7 separate regions of the Homo sapiens genome follow, and all the other regions are linked to region 1. Evidence: promoter capture Hi-C in 16 types of primary human blood cells and fetal thymus (Javierre and others, 2016). All regions are on one chromosome and are shown on one strand. Each heading gives the region's core, a stretch centred on a gene start or on the middle of the fragment in contact. The rest is flanking DNA. Distances are from core to core; before and after follow the strand shown. Region 1 holds the start of RPF1 (ribosome production factor 1 homolog). Region 2 overlaps MCOLN2 (mucolipin TRP cation channel 2). Region 3 overlaps TTLL7 (tubulin tyrosine ligase like 7). Region 4 has its middle 72 kb from the start of PRKACB. Region 5 has its middle 55 kb from the start of PRKACB. Region 6 has its middle 30 kb from the start of LPAR3. Region 7 has its middle 38 kb from the start of PRKACB.

Region 1 (3,617 bases), core at 521-3,020:
TTCCATCTCTTCATGCAGGACTCCTCCAGGGTTCAGTCCTTGATCTTCTTTTTTCAGTTTTCTATCTACACTCATTCTAATGGTTTGAAATACTACCTATGTGCCAATTACTTCCAAAGTTTGATCTTTAGCCCACACCTCTCTGTCCTGCTGCAGAATCATACATCCCAACTGACTAGTTGACACCACCAATCAGATCACTAAAAAGTATCTCAAACTTAACATTTCCAAAACTGAAATCTTGATCTTACCTCTCAGATTTGTTCCATCTGAACTTTCCCGCATTTCACCTGATGGTAACTCCATCCTTTGAATCACTCAGGTCGAAAGTCTTGGAGTCATCCTTGACTCTTTCATGTCCTCCCTTCAGTTCCATCAGTAACTTTACCTTCCAGAGGAATCACTTCTCAACCACCTACACAAGACTTACCCTGGTTCAGGCCACTATCATTTCTTCCCTTCTTCCACACACCCTGCCCCTGCATAGGCTCTTCTCAAAAGAAGATTCTGAATGACGCTTTTACTTTATTTTTATTTATTTTTTTGAGAGGGTCTCACCCTCTCACCCAGGCTGGAATGCAGTGGCACCAACATGGCTCATTGCAACCTAGCCTTCCAGGCTCAATGGATCCTACTGCCTCAGCCTCCTGAGTAGCTGGGACCACAGATGTACACCATGCCCAAACAGATATATATATTTTTTTACTTTTTGTAGACATGGGGTCTCACAGTGTTGCCAAAGCTGGTCTTGAACTCCCAGGCTCAAGCAATCCTCCTGCCTTGGCCTCCCAAAGTGCTAAAATTACAGGCATGGGCCACTGCACCAGCCTGATACTTTTAAGATGTTAAGATCATACCATTCTTTTCCTCAAAATTCTATAAGAGATCTTCATCTCACATAAAATAAAAGCCAAAGTCCTTACAAAACTCTACACCACCTGTCCAATCTCAACACTTCTTGCCTTTCCTGGCTTGCTACTGACTAGGAGCATTGGAGCTGGCTGTTTGCTTTGCCAGGACAGCTTTTCTCCTTGATAACCAGCTTTTCTCAGATTAACAGCTCTTCCCTCAGATAACTAGTTTAGCCCATTACCTCCTTCAAACCTTGGCTCAATGTAACGTTTTCAATGAAGCCTACTCTGAGAATCCTATTTAAAATTGCAACGTACTTTGGGAGTCCAGGGCGGACAGATCACCTGAAATCAAGAGTACAAGACCAGCCTGGCCAACATGGTGAAACTCCATCTCTGCAAAAATACAAAAATTAGCCGGGCATGGTGGCACGTGTTTGTAGTCCCAGCTACTCAGGAGGAGGAGTTTGCAGTGATCGGAGATCGTGCCACTGCACTCCAGCCTGGGCATTAAAGCAAGGCTCCGTCTCAAAAAGATGAATGTCTCTTCATCTTCTTTTATCCTGTTCTATTTTTTTTCCATACCATGTCTTACTCTGTAGCTCACCATAATTTATTTGTATGCTCATTTTAGGTTTCCCTCAAGTAAAACGTAAACTAATCCAGGCACGGTTTTTGTTGTTGTTCCATTATTTTGAGGGCTGGGCACATAGATGCGCAAGGAGTGCCCAAACTCATCATCTCACTCTTTATACAGCTGGGCAAACTGCCTAAAGTTTCCTCAAGCCTCAGCTTTACTATTTTCTTGAATGGCTAAAACTCACAAAACACATCTAGCGTCAAAAACTTTGCGACCCCGGAAGTAAAAGGTTAAGGAAGGGGGTCACAGGAGAAGGCTATTTCCGTTTCCGTACGGAAGCAAAGGAGCCAAGACCATGGCGAAAGCCGGGGATAAGAGCAGCAGCAGCGGGAAGAAAAGTCTAAAACGGAAAGCCGCTGCCGAAGAACTTCAGGAGGCTGCAGGCGCTGGGGATGGGGCGACGGAAAACGGGGTCCAACCCCCGAAAGCGGCTGCCTTTCCGCCAGGCTTTAGCATTTCGGAGATTAAAAACAAACAGCGGCGACACTTAATGTTCACGCGGTGGAAACAGCAGCAGCGGAAGGTACGCGAGAGGCGGGGGCTGCCGGGCGCTTGCGCGTTGTTCCTGACGCTTAGGGCGGTCGCGGGGCGCACATCTGTGGTTGTCTGCTGGTCTCAAAAGTGTTCTCTGTGGCTCCGTGGGAAGGGTGGCGTCGCGGCCCACGTGTTCTGGTCCCCTCGCCCTAGTTTGGAGACTCTAGGTTCAGCCTTTTGCCTGAGCGTCAAGGTGGAAGATTATCTTGATAGGCTCTTTCCTGGGACGCTAGATTCACAAGGAAAGCTGTAAGGCCAGTTGGCTTAGTAGTGAAAACTACGCCCTCCTGGCCCAGAAGGCAAAAGTCTCAGCCCTTTGGTCCGTCTAGGTAGCGTTGGTTAATTTGCAGAATCTGAAATGGAGGCAATACGTAATAAATCCAAAATACTGCTTCTCTGATTCCTGCAGGAGCTCCTTACCGAAATTAGTACTGTAAAGTTTCTGGTAATTGTATTTGTTCTTTTCAGCTTTATCCTTATACGTTTCTGGTAGGTAAACAAACTGAAACGTAAAGAGGTTTAAACGACTTGTCAAGGTCGCAGTGCTCATTTCTGGTTAAATTGCAATTGGAAGAAAACGTTTGCTTATTCTTGCACATCGTAGAAGTTCACACAATATTATTATTATGTGTCTGCCTCCTCTTACTGGCCCTTCTGAGGCCCGGGACTGGTTCTTACTCATGTTCAGTGTCAAGGTGCTGTTTCAATACATACAAGGGGCGTTTAACTCATTCTGGTATGCACGTATTGGGGAGGGATGTCCTGGAAGACTTATTGGAGCTATGATTTCTAATCTGAAACCTGGTGGATTGAGGATCAGTAGGTGCTGGGGAAAAAAGAATATTTTTTATTTTGTCAAGCATTCTATCTAGAAATCTCCAGAAGAATATATAGATTGACAATACAAATACAGATAATCTTAAGCCACCTTGCAAGCTCTTACTAAATTTTAGAAGTATATTTTGATTATAAAATATGTGAATAACTGGTGATGGTTTTATGGAAAACAACCTGAAAACTCAGCTCCCATTCCTATTTTTAGTGCTTTTCAAGAGAAGCAAGCAGCATAACCATGGTCGTCTTTAGGATGCCACCAGTTAGGCAAAACAAAACACAGTGGAAACCATCACATACTTTAATTAATTTGAGGCTTTATGGAAAAAGGTTAAGCTACTCAAATTTTAAATGTTCAAACTTGCCAGTTTAGATTTTTTTAAAGGAGCAGGTCTTTGTTAAAGAAATCTTATTGATTGGCCAGCTCATTTGGCTTACAGTAATTTAGGTAGAAAACTCCACGTCCAGATGCTTATTTCAATAGATTACAAAGACCGCCCAGTTCGAGTATTCATAGCATTAGTAATTTGTAGTTTCAGTATGTGTTTGTGATATAACTGGTTGTTTCTCAGTATTGTTCTCTTTTTTTTTAACCCTTTAGGAAAAGTTGGCAGCTAAGAAAAAACTTAAAAAAGAAAGAGAGGCTCTTGGCGATAAGGTAAATAAAATTTTTAGCTGTTTGCTTTCTATCTTATATTAGGGAATCCCTCCTGATATTTAAGTTGAATTACTTTCTTTTAAAATTTATTATTACGTAT
Region 2 (3,707 bases), core at 259-2,758, 460 kb after region 1:
GCAGGTACGAGCAGGTCTATCACCCAGAGAAGGGAACTGAGGCACCGAGAGGCTAAGCCAGGATCCGTGTCCAGGCAGGCCGGCTCCAGAGTGCGTGCTCCAAATATGAGCCCCCTCACCTTGGCAGGGAAAGGACCTTAACTTTGCATTCAGAATATCAAGGGGATTGGGGAGCATGTAAGAAAGGTGGATATTTACAAAGGACATTGACAAAGGTCAGGATTAGGCAAAATCAAATGCAGACTACGTCCCTGCTCCACAAATGGTACTCTGTGGACTTCCAATTTCCCCTGACCCCAGTGTGCATTTGTACACACGCCACAGCCAGAATAAGATATGTGGGGAGCGGAAGTATATATTCATAAGAGCCCTGAGGGTAAAAAGGCAAAATGAAACTCAGGGGAGAATTTTAAAACTATTTTAAAAACAGAATAAAGTATTTTATGCTTCATTATAATCCATTTACCATGCCTCCCTGTCAAAATGAACTCTGATTTGAAGACAAAAGATGAAACCCACACATGCTATTACTCTGTTCTTCAGATCACTCCTGAATTGAAGAGGGATTTGTTATTCTGGAAACATTCAAAAGCCTGAGAGTTCACCACTGTGCATCTGTACATATCAGCTCAGTTTTAAGCAGGATAATTATCTGATCCCACTTGACATACTCAGAGCCTTTACTCACTTCCTACACCTCAGGCTGATGAATGCCTCATAGCGGGCAACTACTCAAAGGAATCTGATTTAGTCAAAGGTCTCCAAAAAAGGCAGGTGCACAATATCGGTGGTCCACTGCTTGGGCAAACTGAGGGCGCAGGCCAAGAGGGCAGGAAGAGAATGCGAACACACTCTTACCTTCCGTAACCTTAGAGCAAGAACAATGGATCTTGTACACAGAATAAGAGATGCCAAGCAAATCACAATGACAAATGCATCAAACACCAGGACATACTGAGCATTTTTCTGAGCTGAGGAATAAAACAGAATTCAAATGTTAAACACACCTTACCGGAGAATAATTTCCAAACAAAATGGCAGTGTGAAAAGAAGTTCAAACAATAAATGTTTTGTCTATTGTTAAAACAAAATGGTAAATATCAGAAACAAATCACACCGCATTCATTCAGAAGTACATATGTAAGGCAAAACATTCCCTGATATAAAGCTATACATTTAAAAACATGTGAGCTGGGCCAGGCACGGTGGCTCACGCCTGTAATCCCAGCACTTTGGGAGGCTGAGGTGGGCGGATCACGAGGTCAGGAGATCAAGACCATCCTGGCTAACACGGTGAAACCCCGTCTGTACTAAAAATACAAAAAAATTAGCCAGGTGTGGTGGCAGGCGCCTGTAGTCCCAGCTACTTGGGAGGCTGAGGCAGAAGAATGGCATGAAGCCGGGAGGCAGAGTTTGCAGTGAGCCGAGATCGTGCCACTGCGCTCCAGCCTGGGCAACAGAGCGAGATTCTGTCTCAAAACAAAAAACAAAAAACAAAAACAAAAGCAAAAACTATGTGAGCTGCTAATAAATTCACTCAAATTTATATATAAATATTTACTGTAGAATAGAATTCAACAGAAAGTGATCCATTTGGGCTCCATTCAAAAAAAGGCAAAACTGCTGACCTACTCTGAGTTCTTTCACATAAAAGCAGAGACATCAAGTTCACCATTAATAAGAGAACAAACAAATTAAAACACCACCACTCAGAATCCCCACTTCTGCTTCTCAACCTCACTGTGCACTTTCCCAGGACATAGTGCCAATCTTATAAGCCTTCTCTGTATGTAGAGAAAATTACTTCTTGGAACAGAAGCAAGGAGGGGAGTGGTAATCAGATTTTTGGTTTGGAGCACACAGCAGCAAGAAGAATGTATGGGAAGGAGATGAATCTAACCTTAGTTTCTCTCAGACTTCACGGTAGTGTCTCCAATCCCAGCCCAGCTCTCTTCTGCCTGACCCCCACCTTCTTCACCCTACAGCCACACTGATCTTCCTTCTTTCCTGCTCTCACCTCAGGGACTTTGCACATGCTGATCTGTCTGCCTGGAACAGCACTTCTCCCACATGCATGGCTCAGCTTATTTATTTTCAGCCTCAAGTTCCAAATGAAAAATCTCCCATCTCAGAAAAGAATTCCTTAAATTCTCATCTCTATTAGCCCTCTCCTATATACTTTCATGGTTCTTGGTTACTACACACACCCAGAGCTCCTTTACTTTCCTCTGCACAACAGACACTGACCTTTCATTACATCTGCAAAGGCAGCACAGCATGGAGCACAGAGACAGTGTAGAATGGGAAAGAACATGGTCTCTGGAGCCCGACAGCCTGGCTCTGAATCTCAGCTCTGTACTCAGAAGCTGTAGAGCCTTGAGGAAGTTGCTTAACCCCTGTGCCTCAGTTTCCTCCTCTGAAAAGTGGGTAGAATTAAAAAATACCTACATCATAGGGCTATTGTGAAAATTATGCAAGTTCATATACAAAGAGCCCATGAAACAGCCCCAGGAAAATAATAATAGCAAACACTTACAGTGGTTACTATTTTATCATTAAGTGTCCATCTTCCCCATCAAGTGACAGGCTCTCTGAAGCAGGGCCCATAGGTAGTTGCTACGGTTTGAGTTACTTGTCTCCTCCAAAACTCATTTGAAATTTAATCCCCAATGTGACAGTATTGAGAGGGAGGGCCTTTAAAAGGTGATTGGGTCATGAGGTCTCTGCCCTCATAAATGGATTAATCCACTCATAGATTTATGGGTTATCAAGGGAATGGCTCTAGTGGCTTTTTAAGAAGAGGAAGAGAGACTTGAGCTAGTATGCTCACCCCCCTTACCATGTGATGCCCTGCACTGCCTTGGGACTCCACAGAGACTCCCAACCAGCAAGAAGGTCCTCACCAGAAGTGGGGCTCCGACTTTGGACTTCTCAGTTTCCAGAACTGAAAGAATGCATTTCTTTTCTTTATAAATTAGCTAGTTTCAGGCATTCTGTTACAAGTAACAGAAAACGGACTAAGACAGTAGTGTTGAATACAGCACCTGTGCTTAGTATAATGCTTCAGTATACTTTCAAATTAATGAAGAGAATCAAGCAGAACATAAGACCACTGAATAATCTAAGTTAGAACTTATGTTGGTCTGAGCTAAGTTGCGGCAGAGTGAAAGAGGGCACAGAATCGTAAGAGATGGAGAGAGTCATGGCCTGGTCTCTAACTGGACTTGGGGAATAAGGAAGAAGGACAACCAAGAATGATTCCTGGTTCCCTGTCTTGGGCAAACTGAGTTTACTCTGGATATTCATGACAAGAGAAGACTATTCAGTGGCAGTTAAAGCCATGGGAGTGACGGCCCCTCAGAGAGACCACTGGGAAGGACAGCGTCGGGGATGGGGAGCAATGTTTGAGAATTAGAAAAGGAGATGAGCTCAGGAATGGGATGGAGCAGAAAGGCCAGAGGAGAAGCAAACAGAACCAGGGACAGGCGACCCTCAGAGAACAGACTGCGGTCAGAGTCTTCCACAGCAACACCTCTGCAGAGACAGCATTGAAGAGAAATGCCAGAGTGTCTATGGACTTAGTAATGCAAAGATGTGGGTGACACTGGCATGAGTGTCTGAGGGCAAAGCAGCTCCTACAATGGGTGGCGAGCAGAGACAGCCAGCTGGTAAATGCAACTCTCTGAGCAAATGATTTCATCTTACTA
Region 3 (3,560 bases), core at 23-2,522, 480 kb before region 1:
TCATCTCTGGCAAATGTACAGGGGAGGCAGGAGAGGTCTTTAATGTCTGTCAACTGTCCCTCCCTTACACCTTATACCTTGTGCCCAGGACTTCTGCTCAGACCTAAGCAGAGGTCCCAAATTCCTGCTCTCACCTTTGTGAATTCCCCAAATTAGAGTGCAAAAGTGAGCTCACAGCTGTGCCTTGCAATATCAGGACCCTGAAGCTGGAGACCTGGGAATCTGATATAAGAGGATAGAATAAACTGAAATTTGAAGGAGATAGATATGTGTGTTGTGGGTGAGGGAATGCAGAGGTTTACAGCTGAAGTCCACAAATACAACACTGGAACCAGAAAGTAGTCTATCACATATTCTCCTTCTCTGACTATCAACTCTTACTCACTCTCACCAAGCCTGTTCTCCAACTTAGTATCTTCTCTCCTCAGTAACACCAACTGCCTGCCTTTCTCCCAGTCTCCATGATTTAATCAGTCTTTAGTCTAATCAAAAGAAGTTGCTTGAAAGACTATAATCTGAGGAGCCACAGACAAGATTGGGTGTTATGAATTATTAATATGCAAATATTCTATAATCAACATGTAAGTATTCCAAATTGAACACTGGGAATTGATACAGTTTGGATATGGGTCCCTATCCAAATCTCATGTTGAATTTTATTCCCCAGTGTTGGAGGTGGGGGTGGGAAATATTTGAATCCTGGGGACATATCCATCATGAATGGCTTAATGCATCCCTTTGGCGGTAAGTGAGCGCTCACTCTGAGTTCTCACAAGATCTGGTCACTTAAAGTGTGTGGCACCACCCCCTCACTCTCTCTCTTGCTCCTGCTTTCTGCTATGTGACGTGCCTGCTCCCCCTTCCCCTTCAACATGATTGGACGCTTCCTAAGGCCTCCCCAGAAGCAGATGCTGCCATGCTTCCAGTACAGCCTGCAGAACTGTGAGCCAATTACACCTCTTTTCTTATAAATTACCTAGTTTCAGGTATTTATTTATAGCAATGCAAGAATGGCCTAATATAAGAACTCAGTAGTTTCAAAACTTGCTTAAAATAGTGCAACTTCAAGACCTCATACCCTTTAACCCAGAAATTTTATTTCTGAGACTCTATGCAAAGGAACTAATATTCAAAATACAAAAAAAAGCATACGCACAAAGATGTTCATCACAGTGCTATTATTATCATCAATAATTGTTTATTATGATGTCATCAATAGTGACAATGAGGAACAATTAGGCAATGATAATACATCTACCAAATGGAAAATTATGTAGTCATTTTTAAGCCTGCTATTAGGCATTTTAAACCTAGTATTAAGCCAGTTGTAATTAAATGAAAACTAAAGTTATAGAATTTTAAATTTAAAAATAATATAAAAGTAATATAGATACCATAATTAAAACTACGCATGAAAAAAGTGGAAAGAAACATGTCAAAAATGAATAGTGATTGTCTTTAGTTGGTCAAATTATGAGGGTGTTTTTTTCCTTTTTATATTCTTAAACTTTCCAAATTGTTCATAATTATCTAATGGGGGCCGGAGCTAAAAGGCAAATTCCTTTGGAAGAGGAAAAATTGTACTTGCACAGAAAACTTTTTCTCAGTTTAGTTGACAATCCTTTTAGTACCCAGGAAACAGACCATTTCCTGGAAGGGGACTCGGGGCAACAGATATGGAGAATGTAAGAAAGAGAAATGATTAACAGATCAGAAACAGATCTCACTGTCTGACATTCAAGTTTCTTCATGATCTTTCACCATGTATCCAAACAGTAGATGAGCACTTCTTAGCTGAACCTTTATGTGGCTTTCTCTTTGCCTATCAGAATCCTTCCAGTCTCTGAGACTGATTTAATTCACTTCAACCCATGAAGACTTTCCTGATCCTCTGATCATCCAAGGCTCTACTATTTCTCTTTTCTCTTAAGGTACCGCTATAGCAGTAGGTCTGCACCACCCTTTTCTGGTATTAAGCCAATTCTAAGTTATTTGTTAATTACTCACGTGTAAGTAAAATTTCCCCTGCTAGACTTTAAGTTCCTTGAAGTGGGGAATTTAGATGGTTTGCAGACTGTAGTCATTGGACAGAGGAGAGAGAGCAGTTCTAAAGCCAAGTTGGTATTATATTCATACTCTCAGTGATGTCATCTAAGTAAAATGTGCTGTCTCTGTTTTAAAATGTTGCTGCTGACCATCCATCACCAGGACATGCACTTTCCTTTTTTTTTTTTTAACAGCAGTGGTATTGTATTTTTGCTTATTCATTCATGCCAGTTCTGCTGTCCCCCTTAGGATTAAACAGATTGGATTACAAGATGCCTTGCCAAGGTTCAGGATATAGGTTATAGCCATGTAAAGAACAAAATGAAATGACTTTTAGGAATCAAACTCAAGACTCTTCACAAGACCCCACTTCTCATACTCTTGTTTGAACAACAAATATAAATTTGTGCCTCCATTTTATGTCCTTATTTAGGCAGTGGACTTTATCAATACCCCCGTTAACTTGAAAAAGAATTCTCCAATGCAAATGGTTCAATACTTTAGAAATGACATACTAAGATGACTCTGTTCCTGCCTACCATCAATACTATGTGAGTATTTAGAGATAATGAGCATCTGTACTATAGCAACCTGCCTCTTGAGACATAAACAAGAGATGCATTTCTTAAGAAAAAATCTGTAAGTCGCTAATGAAAGCAAGTCAAAGGACCCATCAACGGGCGAAGAAAGACCTAGCATCCATTATTTTTACAGAAGGAGCATAGAAGGTCAATATAATTGTTGACTCTTAACGGCAGGGTAACAACAAACTAATTCAGTTTCCCACTATATAAGAACTACATTTTACTACAACACTCATATTTCTAAACTGACTAAGAGTCAAGGCTTGTCCAAATTCCATGGCTTACTGAGTGGTCTTGAACCTTCTCTGAATTTTGTTCCTTAGTCTGTAAAATGGAGTTATCACCTGTTATGCAATATCACAGAGTTGTAATGAATCAAGTAACATTATCTTAGTATGGGTTCACCTGTCACCCTATTGTGGGGTGCAGTTCAGTCGCACACCTCATGAACTAAGTAACTATTATTACTGTAAATGTCTCCCTAACATTTAAGACAGAAAAAGATTTCCAGAGTTCTTCTTACGTTTTTAATCGACTTCTCCAACACTTGAGCATCCACCAAATATCACTGCCAAAAATGTGCTGAACATCTCCTGTTATGACCTCACTCTCCTATGTAGTGTTGTTCACATATTTTTTGCCATAAGCTTTCTAAGAAAATAGATTATTTTTCACATGATTCAAAGCATCTTTCTTTCATATTGAAGGAGCAATAATTCCTTATGCAGAAAGTTTACAGGTTGTTGTTGCTGTTGTTTGAGATTACTCCTCAATTAATTAATTCTATGTTTAATATCTAATAGAGCATATATATGTACACTTGGACACACTCCATTAATACAGTGGAAAATCCATGGACTATAGAGTCAGGAAAACCTATATTCGAATTCCTGTTCTGTGACCTTGAGAATGTAATTTAACTTCCCTGCT
Region 4 (3,722 bases), core at 274-2,773, 410 kb before region 1:
CTTTTCTTTTGATTATCCGATTTAAGTGCTTTTATATTTTAGCCAATTAGCTAGAGCTGTTTTATATATTTTTAGTACTGAAACATTGTGTACACAACACAAATACATAGACATATTTGTGCATGCTAATAGAAATACATCTTATAGATTCATAAGACCTTTTTTCTTTTTTTTTTTTTTTCCTATCTTAGGCTTTTAAATTCTTGATAACCTGTTTCACTATTCAGGCAGTTGTCAGCTAAGTGGCCTTAAATTTGCATATTAAAGGAAACAACTCTTAGGGGAAAATCAGATAGCAAAATTTACATCTCAAGGTACTGAGAGAGAAAGTCTGGTGTGCTAGAGGGAAGTTAAAACAGATTTAATTGCCAATTAAACAAAAAATTATAGAAATTATAAGGACCTTTTAAATACACACACATACACACACACACACACACACACACACACACACACACACACACACAAAGACCCTATAGCTTTTACTTCAGAACTTTAGCCATGAGATAAATACAAATTCCTTGGGTTGCCAAAAAAAAAAAAAAAAAAAAACACCTCTTAGACCCAAACAGTGTTTATCTCAGTGGAAAAGTAACAGCAGATTTAAAGTAGGAAAAAACGAAAATAGAAAAAAAAGAGAACTTAGGAACTCTGTCGTTTGCAGGTCGATCTTAAGGCTTTTTTTCCTTAATGTAAATGTGCACAAAGACCATATTACTTCCATTTTACACAAACTCTGGCAAGTAGAGGCACCACAAAACCTAGAGTGCTTGAAGGGAGGCTATTCTCCTTGTTTTCTCCTCATTCTTAGATTATTTGTTTCCCACACTTTTTATTTTATTTTATTTTAAAGGAGGAATTGAGCTGTGGCCTAGGGCTTTTGTGGAGTGGATTGAAGTGTTTGCTGCTTGCGAGCAGGACTCTACAGTGAGTCGTTGCCACTGTCTTATGTGTCTCAGTTTTTCTCTCTGGAGATCTAAGCCCCTCCAGATGGGCTCAAAGTATGGAGTGATCAGCTCCTATATGTGCTTCCTGGACAAGCCTTTTTAAAACTAATTTTGTTGGGGGTTCCCTGTAGGGCTGCCGCACCCCAGACACTCCCATGAGGCCCCTGGCCACCCAGGGGTGCTTTTCAGGTGGGAGGAGCAAATACCCTTTCTCTTTGGAGCTGAAGAAACGCAGTCTCTCATTTACCTATGAAAACAACAATTCAGTTCCTCACTCAAATGTGCACCAGGCCAAATTGAGATTAATTTTGGGAGAAAAGCAATGGAGAAGACTCTTTGAATGCTAGAATTAAATTAGGATCGGAGCTAGAATTAGGATCCTTAAACAGCAACTTCCTAGGAGAAAAAAAAACCAGCTCAGAATAGATCAAGGACCCTCAACCAAAGGGAGGTGCGGGCTCAGGAGGACACATGAGCTCCACCAGAGGAGAAGCTCAAAGTCAGGGAGGCTTCAGTGGGCCCCTGCTGGTACCTTAGCACTGAGTTTGGGCAACTCCTGTGGGGTCCTGAGTCTTCTCTGAGGCCCAACATGTTTGGGTGCCAAAATATTGTTAACAAAAAGTCAAACTGTACAATATTTTGAAGAGATTTATTCTGAGCCAAATATGAGTGACCATGGCCCATGACACAGCCCTCAGGAGGCCCTGAGAACATATGACCCACAACTCATGTATTTATCTAACTTTATATTTTCCTGCTGTTCATCATCCCCATATAGAAGTCCCACTACCAACTCGAACTCAGTATGACCCAAGTTACACGTCTCTCACTAATTTAAAAAACAGTTTTTTTCCCTTTTATTCCTGATCTCATTATCCACTCACTCAGGATAGAAAATTGATTGAGAGCTCTAAGTTTTTCTTTTCACTATATTGGGCATCTGCCGTTTTTGTCTACTCCATATGATGGTTTCTTCTAGAAAATTATACTTATCTCATTTCATGTCAACCATGGGGTCCTCTCTTCATAGGAATGTGAATGTTACCCATACAGAACCAATATGTGTAATATACAGGTTGGATCCCTAATCCAAAAATCAAAAATGCTCCAAAAGCCAAACTTTTTGAGCACCAACATGATGCCATGAGTGGAAAATCCCATACCTGACCTCATGTGACAGGTTGAAGTCAAAATGCAGTTAAAAACTTTGTTTCATGCACAAAATGATTTAAAATATTGTGTAAAATTACCTTCAGGATGTGTATAAGGAATACATGAAATGTAAATGAATTTTGTGTTTGCACTTGGATCCCATCCTCAAGATGTCTCATTATGTATATGCAAATAATCCAGAATCCAAAATCTGGAAACATTTTTGGTCTTAAGCATTTTGGATAAGGGATATTCACTTAACTTTATACTACACAGATGCTGGGAAAGAAAAGGCATTATTGTTTAGATTGTTAAGATGGGAGGATGTAAACTTGTCATGTGGAGAGAGCCTGTTTGGCAGAATACAGTCAAATATATGAACAGAATAAGGATTAATATGTAGAGATATCCATCCTTGGATCTATCTAATCCTAAAACCATGTCCAACCTAAATTTTCTAGTTCTGTGACCTAGTAAGTTCTGCTTATTTTTTCTTATGCTAGTTTGAATTGGGCTTCTATCACTTGTATTATGCTAAGGAGTCTTAACACTTAACAAATTCTATAGATCTTAACATTCAAGTATCTGACATGGATCCTTTCTTTTTTCTTCCACTGATATACTGTTGAATGATTTCCTGTCATTCTTCTACTACAATAGTCATCTTGCTGCCAATCTATTGTTTCTCCAACATATCCATCACATTACTATTAAAGATACCTTATTAATAAAATGTGGGATTATATTACTTCTCTCTTTAAATATCTTCAAGTTCTCTATTGCATAATAAACAAGCCTATATTTCTTAAGTGGCATTTAAGGTTTCCCCAAATAAATACAATCTGATCTGAACCTACTATTTATTCATTTATTCACTCATTCAGCAAATATTTATTGAGTACCTACTATATACGAGGCATAATGCTAGATATAGCAGATACAGTGATGACAAAATCAAAATTCCTCCATACATAGCTTACATTCCAGTGGGAAAGTCGCAACTCTTACTACATCTTTCCATAACATCGGGTCTAGTATGACCTGGGGATAATTTCCATGGAAACCTCTGCTCAAGCTGTTCTTAGTTCTCAATGATCTTCCCCATCTGTCAAACATCAAAATTCAATGCTAAATTATCTATGATTTAATGGCACTTACTTTTATGTTTCCTGAGTAGTTGTTTACATTTATGCTATAGTACAAATTTATCTTATATAATTACTGATTTATTTATTCATCTTGCCTTACACAAAAACTTCTTGAGGACAAGGAATTGATTTTGTTCATTTTTGTCCCTTTCATAATACTTTGCATATAATACAAACTCATTATTATTCTATTTGTTGTAATCAAATTTGTTGAATGATTTTGTTGAAACATAAACATGAGGAAATAGAATGTTATTGAGGACTGGGGGACACAGTTATAGTTACTGAGTGCCTATCACATAACAAAAGTTATCCTAGGTGTTTTTCATAGACTATATGATTTAATTCATATAACTTCACACCACAGGAAACTAAGTCAAGGGAAATGAAATAATTTAGATATTTCGTAGATATTTCGTCGTAGATACTGGCCAAACCAGAACATGAACCCAGATATTTCTGACTAAAATGCTCA
Region 5 (3,901 bases), core at 115-2,614, 390 kb before region 1:
CCCAGGCTGGACTCAAACTCCTGGGCTCAGGCAGTCCTGCGTAGCTGGGACTGCAGGTGTGTACCATCGAGGCTTGTTTTTTTACTCTTGATAGGTTTTATAATCTCTCTAGCCCCCAGCACTTTCCAAAAGAATCATCAGTATTTATAAGATAAGTCTTCTTCTTGCTAATACTAAGGTTTACTACTATTATGCAAATAAATTGTTTCCCCGATATGGTGGTATAGCTTAAATTGCTTTTAGTGGATTTCTTTATTTTAATTGGCTATAATTAATTTATTCATTTAGTTCATTTTTATTCCCTAGCCAGTGAAATAGGGAGTAAAGAGTTGTCTTCATGTAGCTTATAGTCTGGTAAAAGATTTAGACAAGTAAAAGCACAATTATGAGAATGTTGTAGGAAGTGGATTATAGGACGTGTTTTTTTGTAATGTGAATTAGATTCAGTAATGCTATGTATCTATGCAGAAAATTTTCCGAATCAAATTCGGGATTCTTATAAGTTAAATTGATACACTAGCATAATTGGTATTAGTTCTGCCTTCGAAAATCCAATGTAGATGCCATATTTTTTATCTGGCCTGATGTAACAAGGTATAAAGTCCCAGGCTCTATGGCCATAGTTTAATGTTATATTCACTGTTGTCTTCTATTCATATGTTAACTTTTCAGGGACATCTGAAACTTGTTTTGTTGTAAGATAACTGTGGAATCTAAACCTTTAGGTCTCTGACAAGCCTGTTTTCTCGATCTGGACTTTGTCCTTAGAAAATTAAAGAGACTATTCTTGTGATCATATTAGTTTAGAGTCCTGTTTAGTAAAATGAATATTCCATTTCTATACTGTATTCTTCTTAAGTAGATGACCATATAGCATCAGCAGGCCATTGTTATATGTGAGCCACAAACTTGAGAGAACATGTTGGTATAGATATTACTTCTTTTACAGGGGCTAGCTCTACTGGTAACTTAGCTCTTTCAATCTTAGCTCAGCTCCCTCTGAGTAGGAGCCATGACAGGTTAAACTGTGGAAGAATATGAGCCTCACTTTAGGCTGTAGTCTTTAGGTCATGAATAAGCCATAGTTCAATTCATAGAATGACAGGCAAAACATTCACTTATTTGTCTTTCATTCATTCTTAATCAGTACTTATTGAGCGCCTACTTTAAACCAGGCACTATGCTAGTCTGTAGATGCAAATAAAAATAAGACTTGGTTCCTGTCCTTAAATTGGGAGACAGATACAGATATTTATAGTAAGGCATACAATGATACATAGGTGCCTGAGATTAATACTAGGGTGAAAATGTAGCATAGGAGTTTATAGAGGAGTAGTATAGAATTTCTGAGATCATCTTGGGAAATAGACTGAAACTGACTGAAATGGAAACTTCCTTTGAGTCCATTTTGGAAATATTTACATCTATAATTGTAGCACTTGTACTACATTGCTTTTTCAACTCTTATACCCACTACAGTGTGATCTGGCAAAGCAGTGTCTATGTTGTTTAGTGTTTTAATCTCTGGAATGTGGCACAGTTCTTGGCTCATGTCATGGTGGAAGCTAAAATCATGGATAGTTAAATGGATCAAAAATTCAAACCTCCTGTAGAAGCGTACATCCTCCTCCCTTTCCTCCATTGGCAGGAACTTTGTCAGTAATGTATTGACTATTTGGGGATAATAGTTGATTAATGTGATAAGAGGGTACCTCTTTCCCCCCTTTTTATGGTATATAGTAACTTCTTTGACATTTACATATCAAAATTATATCACAGTTGGTATGGGGAGATTGGTCTCAGGCAGGTAGGAAGAAGACACTGGACTAGGAAAAACTAGAGTATTATGCTCCCAACCTTTTGAAAAATTTGTTATTCAAGGCATGTATCATTCAACTGTGCCACTGTGTTTCTCATCCTTGTTGCTGTCATTTACCAGTCTCTTGCTTACTTCTTATTCATCAAATATTTTGGCATCTGGCCCACAATGTTTCTCTATACTCTAAGCTCTGCATTCATCCTGGATGGTTTCAAATTCTATGTTAATGACTCATCTATCATCACTGCACCTCTGTTCTTTGACCATGTTATCTCCTATTCCCCTTTTGTTCATTCAGATGTCTAGTCTTGCCAAAGACCTTGTAATATTCATTAACTGCTCAAGAATCACCAATGTGTGTGATTCTTTGATCACAATTTCCTCTCCTTTTTGCTTGCTTTTTAAATATTCCCATTATGATCATTCTTCATCAGAACCTCTCATCCATTTATCCATCAGTCCTCTCACTTTCATTTTTTCTTCTTAACCATTCTAGATTACTTGGTCCCAAAATTCCTTTGCACATCTGCCTCTTTATCAAATCTCTCTAACAAAAATGTAACTCATGATAAACTCAGCTATGTGCTTTCTCAGTGCTTTCAGTCAAGAGCTAAGCACTGCTAGAGAAAGCTGCACAGAAGAACACTAGAAATTTACTATCATCAACCTCAAATGAGCTGTCAACATGACTTTACAGTTTTACCACATTTCTCTGATCAACTCTGTCTCTCATTCTTCACAAGTTCTATTTCATTTCTCTCTCTTTATACCTCTGACTTCTCCATTATCTCTCTCATTCTAAGTCATGATATTATGTCATATTTTACAAGGAAAATAAAAGCTATCAGACAGGAACCCCTTTAACTTCTTCCTATTAAATGTTCACACCTACTGTATTTTAACTTGACCATCTTATTCTGTTATAATAGAGGAGTTGTCTGTTATATTTATCTATTGTTCCATCATGCAGGACTCCTAAATTTAGCAGCTTAAAGAGTGACAACATTTATTTTACTTATGAAAGTAAGTAATTTGGGCAGAGCTCAGCTATGCACTCTATATGACATCAGCTATCTTAGCTCTGCTAATAAATCACTGCTATGGTTTATGGGGACTAGAAACACATGAAGCCTTGCTCATTTACATGTTTCCCTGTTGATGCTGGCTGTACAGGTAATTTGAACCTTACCTGGGACTGTCAGCTGAAGCACCTACACATGACCTCTACATGTGGCTTGGGCCCCATATCATGTGGCTAAGTTCCAAGAAGGAGGGAGAGAGCCAGGTATAAGCTGTATCACCTTTTATGACCTAGCCTCCAAAGTCAAGCAGTGTCACTTCAGCTGCATTCTGTTTGTTAAGTGAGTCACTTAAATGAGTCTGTATCAAGGGAAGTTGAATTAGATTCTGCACTTTGATGGAAGGAGTTAGAAAAATTTGGGGACATGTAGAAATCACATTGTACATCTTTCTCTGCAAGCCCAATCACTCCACTATTACTTTGGATCCCAACCCCTCCTGCTTTCCCAGGAGTCTTTGTATTCTTATCTTTTATATGTATAATAATATGTCTTCTCATTTATTTAAAAAACGTGTACCCCTTTTCCCTTCACTTTCAGTTTTCTCTTTGACCCTACTTTCTCTTTCCCTTTCTCATCGCTCACCTACTAAAGTGAACTGGCCTGTGATTTACAGTATGTGTGATCAAATCAGTTGACTTTGGTGCCCAGGCAGGTAATTTTAATGTGTCTTGGGTAAAACCTGAGACGAGAAGAAAGAAGAAAGAGAAAAATGTTCTTTTTCTGCTCTTGCTGTATTATAGTTACTTACAATCAGGTTACAGAGAACTTAATCAGCTTTTAGAATATAACATGTTTGAATGTTGTGGTCTGCATATTAATATTTAAGTATTAACTTGAAGTTATATGAAGTATGTAACAACATAAAAAATGTCAAACTGGGTTACATGCACAACCTGGTTTAATATATAAGAACCTAATTTCTAAATACCTTTAGAATCTTTGACCTAACAATTTCTTGGTTCTTTATGATTAGATTTAACTTTCTTGTTTTTTTGGTTTT
Region 6 (3,879 bases), core at 134-2,633, 440 kb after region 1:
TTATTATAATTGTTCTATTTTATTATCATTGTTAATACAGTATGTTATTGTAATTGTTCTATTTTTTGTTATTGTTGTTAATCTCTTACTGTGCCTAATTTATAAATTACACTTTATCATAGGTATGTATGTATAGGAAAAAACATAATATATAAAGGTTGAGTATCCCTTATCCAAAATGCTTGGGAACAGAAGTGTTTCAGCTTTTGGATTTTTTCAGCTTTTGGAATATTAACATATACATAATGAGATATCTTGGGGGTGGGATCCCAGTCTAAACATGAAATTCATTTATGTTTCATATATACCTTATATACATAGCTTAAAGGTAATTTCATACAATATTTTAAATAATTTTGTGTATGAAACAAAGTTTTGACTGTGACCCATCACATGAGGTCAGCTGTGAAGCTTTCCACTTGTGGAGTCATGTCAGCAAAAGTTTCAGATTTTGGAGCATTTCAGCTTTTGGATTTTCGAATTAGGGTTGCTCAACCTGTATGGGATTCAGTACTGTTTAGGGTTTCAGGCCTGTACTGGGGGTCCTGAAACATATTCTCTGTGAACAAGGAGGGACTACATGGTTAAAATGTTCAAACTTCAAGTGAAGCAAAGCAAAAATAAAATTTGCCCAAGTTACAAGAAAATAAAAATGGAGCTGATTAGCAGTAAAATGAGGTCTATTCGTCTAATGTTACTGCAATATGTGGCTGTCACAAGTGAATTGTTCAGGTATCTGGAATCGTACCTGTAAGCATCACAGCTCTTGATATTGTCAAGAAACAACTCTGTGGCCAAGACCATGGTGGCAGTTTATTGAATATACGTTTCCAATGACTTTAGAAAGGCCCCTGAACATCAATACAGTGCTGGGCTATATATACATATGTGTGTGTGTGTATATATATATATATATATATATATTTTTTTTTTTTTTTTTTTTTTTTTTTTTTGAGATGGAGTCTTGCTCTGTCACCCAGGCTGGAGTGTAGTGGCACGATCTCGGCTCACTGCAAGCTCCGCCTCCTGGGTTCACACCATTCTCCTGCTTCAGCCTCCCGAGTAGCTGGGACTACAGGTGCCCACCACCACGCCCGGCTAATTTTTTTGTATTTTTAGTAGAGACGGGGTTTCACTGTGTTAGCCAGGATAGTCTCGATCTCCTGACCTTGTGATCCATGCGCCTCGGCCTCCCAAAGTGCTGGGATTACAGGCGTGAGCCACCACACCCGGCCAGTGCTGGGCCATTTTTACATGAAGGTCCACAGGGACAAGAGGGCGACTGGCTACCCCTAGATCAAAAGGCTGGGCTATTGTGCTTTTCATAAACCCATGATTCCAAGCGTGGTCTTCCACTGGATCAGTGTACCCTTTTTACAATTGTTGGAGTGTAGGTCCTCAGCAGGAGTGGGGGACAGTGCCTCGAATCGCACGAAGAGCTTTTCCTAACTACCCTCTCTCACTCTTTTGCATTCACCACTTTGAGTCAGCAATGGGTTGAGAAGGAAGTGGGCCTGAATTTTATACATTCTGACAAGTTTGGTTAAGGGGGTAGTCCTAGTAGAGGACTGAGGGTCTCACCCAGGGTGAAGGACTGAGGCTTTGTGACAGCTTGTGCACCTCCTGGACCTTTTCTCTTCCATCAGGACTGACAGCTGTGCCCCAGCCATTTAGGCTGCTTCTCCTTGCTGCTCCTCTATGGCTAGGTGTGAGCTTCTTAGGGCTGAACTGATCATTGCCTCCAGGACAGGACTGGATGGGGGACTTTTGCACACTTAAAGTTCTAACTAGAACAAAGTCCACCAGAAGTGTGTGGTGAGTGCATTATAAAATAAAAATCTTCCTGGCTGGCCCAGATGAACAGATTTGTACATTTGTAGACCATGTTAGTAAGACATGTTTTTTGAAGAGCTAATAGTCATTGAGCACTTAGGAGTCACGCCCTATTCTATGCACTTTACGTTTGACTCATTCAATCCTCATAATCCCATTTTATGGATGAGGAAATCTATGCATGGCATGACCTGTCCAAGGAGACTCAGGTAGCAGTAGGAAGAGGACAGCTGAGGCAGACAGGTTGCAGAAGCAAAGTCGTGTCTGCATTATTCCATGGTCCCATGGAAACTATTGCAAACATGTTAGAGAATCAAAGGGAAATAACAGCTCAGGAATGAATTCAATACCAGGCTCTGCATAAATTATGTGACTTAAGTGCCAGTCTTGGTTGAGGTTTATCATCACTTAGAGGAAGAAAGTAACTTGTTCAGGGCCTTAAAGTTAGGTTAAGCTGGAATTTTAACTCAAGTCTGTCTAGATGGCTCTTATGCCCACACTCTCTCCTACCAGCTCAAGTGAAAAAGCTTTAAGATGTTGTATATGGTTTTGACTGTGTCACCACAAGCCAAGGAGTTAAATTCAAGGGTTGGAGATCCCAGAATGAAACCAGCAGGCAGAAAGAATGTGTCTCCTAACTTTCACAGGGAACCCTCTAAGTGGAGGCCTATGATAAGAGAGAAAATGATTTATCCCAGATGCATCTATTAGCAGAATTATGAGACAACATTGTTCAATAAAATCCAAATAACAATACAGTTGATAAAGTGACAATTGTTTAACATTATTAAAAAGGGAGAAAACAATGTTTCTATAGATGTGAGCTAACCCTGAAAAACATTTTTCTTTCTAAAACTGTTTTGTCCAGCTGGAGGGAAAATAAATAAAAGAAAACATGAAAGCCAATAGAAGAATAATATGAGCATGAAAACCCATCATTAATCTTCTATTCAAATGGCAGTCACAGCTGCAGAACAAATGAAAGCTTTTTTTTTTTTTTTTTTTTGAGATGGAGTCTCACTTTGTCACCCAGACTAGAGTGCAGTGGCCGGATCTTGGCTCGCTGCAACCTCCGCCTCCCGGATTCAAGCGATTCTCCTGCCTCAGCCTCCTGAGTATCTGGGACTACAGGCGCCTGCCACCACACCCAGCTAATTTTTGTATTTTTAGTAGATACAGGGTTTCACCATGTTAATAGCAATTCTTGGGTTGGGCGTGGTGGCTCACGCCTATAATCCCAACACTTTGGCAGGCCAAGGCGGGCGTACACGAGGTCAGGAGATCAAGACCATCCTGGCCAATATGGTGAAACCCTATCTCTACTAAAAAAATACAAAAAATTAGCCAGGTGTGGCGGTGCATGTCTGTAGTCCCAGCTACTCAGGAGGCTGAGGCAGGGGACTCGCTTGAACCTGGGGGGCAAAGGATGCAGTGAGCCAAGATCATGACACTGCACTCTAGCCTGGCAACAGGGCAAGACTCTGTTTAAAAAAAAAAAAAAAGAGAGAAAGAAAAAAAATAGCAGTTCTTTTCAGAGACAAAACTAAGTATATGACAATATACTCAGAAGTTAACAAGTGGTCCAATTACGTATCTGATTCTTGGGTCAGGCAAATGACCCCAGAACCACCAGTTTAATGGTGTCTTAGTTTAAAAATCAAACATAACTCTTCACATATCTTGTAAAAAAGAAAGTTTAAAATAATTTTAGCAAAGTACTCTGTGTGTAGACATGAGTCATCTACTCTCTTATATACTTTAATGGTATTAACTGCATGATTTTCCCTGCCTATAGTTGGTGCAGGCATATGAAGATGGGGTCAGAGCAAGGAGGGGGAAGGTGACATGAGAAGGAAAATTGGGTAGGGGCTTGTGGGGAGGGCGACTGAGGCCAAGGAGAAAGAGGAAGAGCCCTGGAAGGAGGGTCCTGCTTAATTCAAATTCTCCTCTTCACCAATAACTTTAAATAGTTGGCCACTGAGATAGCTCAGGTATGAAATAAGTCTATGCATGAAGTGATCTTCATCTCTCAAGCTATCATCATAA
Region 7 (3,766 bases), core at 875-3,374, 370 kb before region 1:
TATCTAGCTGTGATTTTTTATCAGTTAACCTCTCTCTAATCTGTAGTAACCCACAATTATCTAATTCTCTTCCCAACTTTTAATAACCACAATTCTCCTATCTACTTGTATGAGCTCCACTTTTAAAAGCTCCCTCATATGGGTGAGAACATATGGTATTTTTCTTTCTGTACCTGACTGATTTCACTTAACATAACATCCTCTAGGCTCATCCATGTTGCCACAAATAACAGGATTTCATTCTTTGTTATGTCTAAATAGTAGGTCATTGTTTATATACATATATATACACTTTCTTTTTCTGTTAATCTGTTGATAGATGTTTAGGTTGATTCCATATCTTGATTATTGTGAATAGTGCTGCAATAAACATGGGGTGCAGATGTCTCTTCAATATACTGATTTCCTTCCGTTTGCATTAATAGCCAGCATTGGGATTGCTGGATTATATCTTCTATTTTTAGTTTTTTGAGGAAGCTTCCATACTGTTCCATAATGGCTGTACTAATTTACATTCTCACTAAAAGTATATGAGAGTTCCCTTTCTCTGCATCCAAAAAGACTATTGTCTTTTTAACAATAGTCATTCAAACCGAGGTGAGATGGCTTTCATTTGCATCTCCCTCATGATTAGTGATGTTGAGCATTTTTTCATATACCTGTGGCCATTTGTATGTAGAACCAATGCTTTTAATCACATGTCAAACTGCCTATGTCCCAGTCCTTTCCAGAGAGCCCTCTGGAACCCTTTTTCTATTGTAAACAAATTTATTTAAACCTACAGGTTTTCCATGGAATAGAAGTTTATTCCTCAGTACCTTGCATCTACTAGTTGGGCAGTTATGGTGAGCATATCTTTTTGACTTAATTCTAGAGTAATTATATAATTGGAGATAAAGCTGGGAACCATTCTTTACTTAAAAAGTCTCAAGTGGGACTCTCCTTGGAGTGTTCTCTAAAAACAAAACAAAAAAAATCGTTTTCTTAAAGGCATTTAGTTAGCAGAGCACAGCTGACTGAAAATTTCTTAAATACAATTCAGGATAGTTTGTATAAATAACCAAAAGGTAAATAACCAATGTAGTCCTCATGAGACATTAAAATTTTTTTTCAACTGAATCTCTCACTGCACTGTTAATTGGAAGTCTTCTTTCTTGACCATTCTCTAGAACAGAATACAACTGCGGTCACTCCTCTCTTCTGGATGTTTTTTTCTGGACCATCCAATTCATTTCCACCCCCTTGTTATGGAGAGAAACTTTCCTCTTTCATGGAAAAGTCATTCTGACATCGAGGCACCACGACTTTTGACCTAGAGTAAGCATATCAAACTATTTTTCTCAACTCAATAATTTACAGAAAAATATTAAGAAGGTGAAAATTTTCCATTCATCATTACCTACATGTAAGAAAAAAAGAAAAGAAGAAAAATCTACCAGAATCCTAGCATTTACAGATAACCACTGTTAGCATTTATTTATTTATTTATTTATTTATTTATTTATTTATTTATTTATTTACTGAGACAGGGTCTCCTTCTGTCACCCAGGCTGGAGTGCAGTGGTACGATCACAGCTCACTGCAACCTCCACCTCCCGGATTCAAGTGATTCTCCTGCCTCAGCCTCTTGAGTAGCTGGGATTACAGGTGCACGCCACCACAGCCCAGCTAATTTTTGTTCTTTTTAGGAGAGATGGGATTTTGACGTATTGGTCAGGCTGATCTCGAACTCCTGACCTCAGGAGATCCACCTGCCTGGGCCTCCCAAAGTGCTGGGATTATAGGTGTAAGCCACTACACCCAGCTTGTTAGCATTTTTTGAATACTGTTGGCTTTCTATATCCACAGATTCAAACAATCAAGGATTCAACCAGCCATGAATCAAAAATGTTGAATCAACAAAACAATAATAAAAAATAAAGTAGAAATAATAATAACTATTTACATTACAGTATAATAGGTATTATAAGTAATCTAGAGATTATTTAAAGTATACAGGAAGATGTGCATAGGCTATATACAAATACTATGCCATTTGACATAAGGGACTTGAGCATTCATGTATTTTGATATCCAGAGGCGCCCTGGAACCAATCTCCCATGGATACCAAGGGGTGATTGTATATCCTGTTTAAAAGTATATGGGTGAGTTTCCTCCTAGTCAACATAGTGTTGGAAGTCCTGGCCAGAACAATCAGGCAAGAGAAAGATAAAAGGCATTCAAATAGGAAGAGGGGAAGTCACATTATCCCTGTTTGCAGATGACATGATTCTATATCTAGAAAACTCCATAGTCTGCCCAGAAGCTCCCTGATCTGATACACAACTTCAACGAAGTTTCAGGATACAAATAAATATACAAAAGTCAGTAGCATTGCTATACACTAACAGCACCCAAGCTGAGAGCCGAATCAGGAATATAATCTCATTCCCAATTCCCACAAAAAAGGTTAAAATAGCTAGGAATACAGCTAACCAAGGTCAAAGAGCTCTACAATGAAAATTACAGAACACTGCTGAAAGAAATCAGAGATGACACAGACAAGTGGAAGAGCACTCCATGCTCTTAGATAGGAAGAATCAATATGGTTAAAATGGCCATACTGCCTAAAGCAATTTACAGATTCAATGCTATTTCTATCAAACTACCAATTACATTCTTCACAGAACTAGAAAATACTATTCTACCATTCATATGAAACCAAAAAAGAGCCCAAATAGCCAAGGCAATCCTAAGCAAAAAGAACAAAGCTGGAAGAATCACATTGCCTGACTTCAAACTGTACTATAAGGCTACAGTAACCAAAACAGCATAGTACTGGTATAAAAACAGACACATGGACCAATGGAACAGAATAGAGAGCCCAGAAATGAAGCCACACACCCAGGAGGAGGGAGAGGTTCAGAAGAGAAAGATAAAAAGGAAAACAAATGAACAAACAAAAAAACCAAACCTGTTGAGTAGTATGCTTAGTACCTGGGTGACAAAATAATCTGTACACCACACCCCCAAGTCACAAGTTTACCTATATAACAAACCTACAGATATGCCCCCGAACCTAAAATAAAAGTTAAAATATATTTTAAAACATATATAAAATGGATATATGTGTCAGTTTTAACCAACTGATGTTTGACAAGGCTGATTAAACAAGCAATGGAGAAAGGACTCCCTGTTCAATAAATGGTTCTGGGATAATTGGCTAGCTGTATGCAGAAGACTGAAACTGGACCCCTTCCTTATACCATATGCAAAAATCAACCCAAAATGAATTAAAGACCTAAATGGAGAACCTAAAACTGTAAAGCCCATGGAAGATAACCTAGGAAATACCATTTTGGACATAAGAACGGGCAAAAATTTCATAACGAAAATGGCACAAGCAATTTCAACAATAGCAAAAGTTGACAGATGGGACCTGTTTAAAGAGCTTTTGCATAGCAAAAGAAACTATCAACAGAATAAACAAACAACCTACAAAAATATTTTCAAACTATGCATCTGACTAATGTATAGTTAGTCTGGGTCTAATATCCAGAATCTACAGGGAACTTAAACAAATGTACAAACAAAAAGCAAACAGCCCTATTAAAATGTGCACAATGGACATGAGCAGACACTTTTCAAAAGAAGACATACATGCGGCCAACAAACATGAAAAAAATGCTCAATATGACTAATCATTAGAGAAATGCAAATCAAAACCACAAGATACCATCTCACACCAGTCAGAATGGCTATTATTAAAGAGTAAAAAAATAACAT

The links. The method cuts DNA at HindIII sites, captures the fragments that hold promoters and counts their contacts. A CHiCAGO score of 5 or more calls a contact.
Region 2: a fragment that was not itself captured here is called in contact with the fragment with the promoter of RPF1 in region 1 in 5 of 17 cell types (M2 macrophages, naive CD4 T cells, naive CD8 T cells and 2 more); the score reaches 7.2 in M2 macrophages.
Region 3: a contact is called between a fragment that was not itself captured here and the fragment with the promoter of RPF1 in region 1, in 1 of 17 cell types (naive B cells). The highest score is 5.3, in naive B cells.
Region 4: a contact is called between a fragment that was not itself captured here and the fragment with the promoter of RPF1 in region 1, in 1 of 17 cell types (total B cells). The highest score is 5.8, in total B cells.
Region 5: a contact is called between a fragment that was not itself captured here and the fragment with the promoter of RPF1 in region 1, in 4 of 17 cell types (total B cells, fetal thymus, naive CD8 T cells and 1 more). The highest score is 6.3, in total B cells.
Region 6: a contact is called between a fragment that was not itself captured here and the fragment with the promoter of RPF1 in region 1, in 1 of 17 cell types (M2 macrophages). The highest score is 8.1, in M2 macrophages.
Region 7: a contact is called between a fragment that was not itself captured here and the fragment with the promoter of RPF1 in region 1, in 1 of 17 cell types (erythroblasts). The highest score is 5.4, in erythroblasts.

Annotation. Positions count from the first base shown.
Region 1 is chr1:84,477,496-84,481,112 of GRCh38, forward strand. It overlaps RPF1 (ribosome production factor 1 homolog), which reads left to right and starts at 1,771. Exons shown (of 9, transcript NM_025065.7): 1 at 1,771-2,014; 2 at 3,461-3,517. The coding sequence starts at 1,787. RefSeq lists enhancers at 1,432-1,992, 2,188-2,347. The HindIII fragment of the contact is 6,088 bases long and covers 1-3,617 here.
Region 2 is chr1:84,940,021-84,943,727 of GRCh38, forward strand. It overlaps MCOLN2 (mucolipin TRP cation channel 2), which reads right to left. Exons shown (of 14, transcript NM_153259.4): 8 at 859-971. Among named protein-coding and RNA genes, the nearest start is that of LPAR3, 49 kb to the left of the region's middle. The HindIII fragment of the contact is 4,398 bases long and covers 1-3,707 here.
Region 3 is chr1:83,994,646-83,998,205 of GRCh38, forward strand. The region is part of intron 1 of TTLL7 (tubulin tyrosine ligase like 7); the gene reads right to left. Among named protein-coding and RNA genes, the nearest start is that of TTLL7, 2.7 kb to the right of the region's middle. The HindIII fragment of the contact is 4,005 bases long and covers 1-3,275 here.
Region 4 is chr1:84,070,368-84,074,089 of GRCh38, forward strand. No RefSeq gene overlaps it. Among named protein-coding and RNA genes, the nearest start is that of PRKACB, 72 kb to the right of the region's middle. The HindIII fragment of the contact is 4,399 bases long and covers 1-3,722 here.
Region 5 is chr1:84,087,603-84,091,503 of GRCh38, forward strand. It overlaps a transcript of PRKACB not described here. Among named protein-coding and RNA genes, the nearest start is that of PRKACB, 55 kb to the right of the region's middle. The HindIII fragment of the contact is 8,490 bases long and covers 1-3,901 here.
Region 6 is chr1:84,921,540-84,925,418 of GRCh38, forward strand. No RefSeq gene overlaps it. Among named protein-coding and RNA genes, the nearest start is that of LPAR3, 30 kb to the left of the region's middle. The HindIII fragment of the contact is 1,949 bases long and covers 410-2,358 here.
Region 7 is chr1:84,104,072-84,107,837 of GRCh38, forward strand. It overlaps a transcript of PRKACB not described here. Among named protein-coding and RNA genes, the nearest start is that of PRKACB, 38 kb to the right of the region's middle. The HindIII fragment of the contact is 3,298 bases long and covers 476-3,766 here.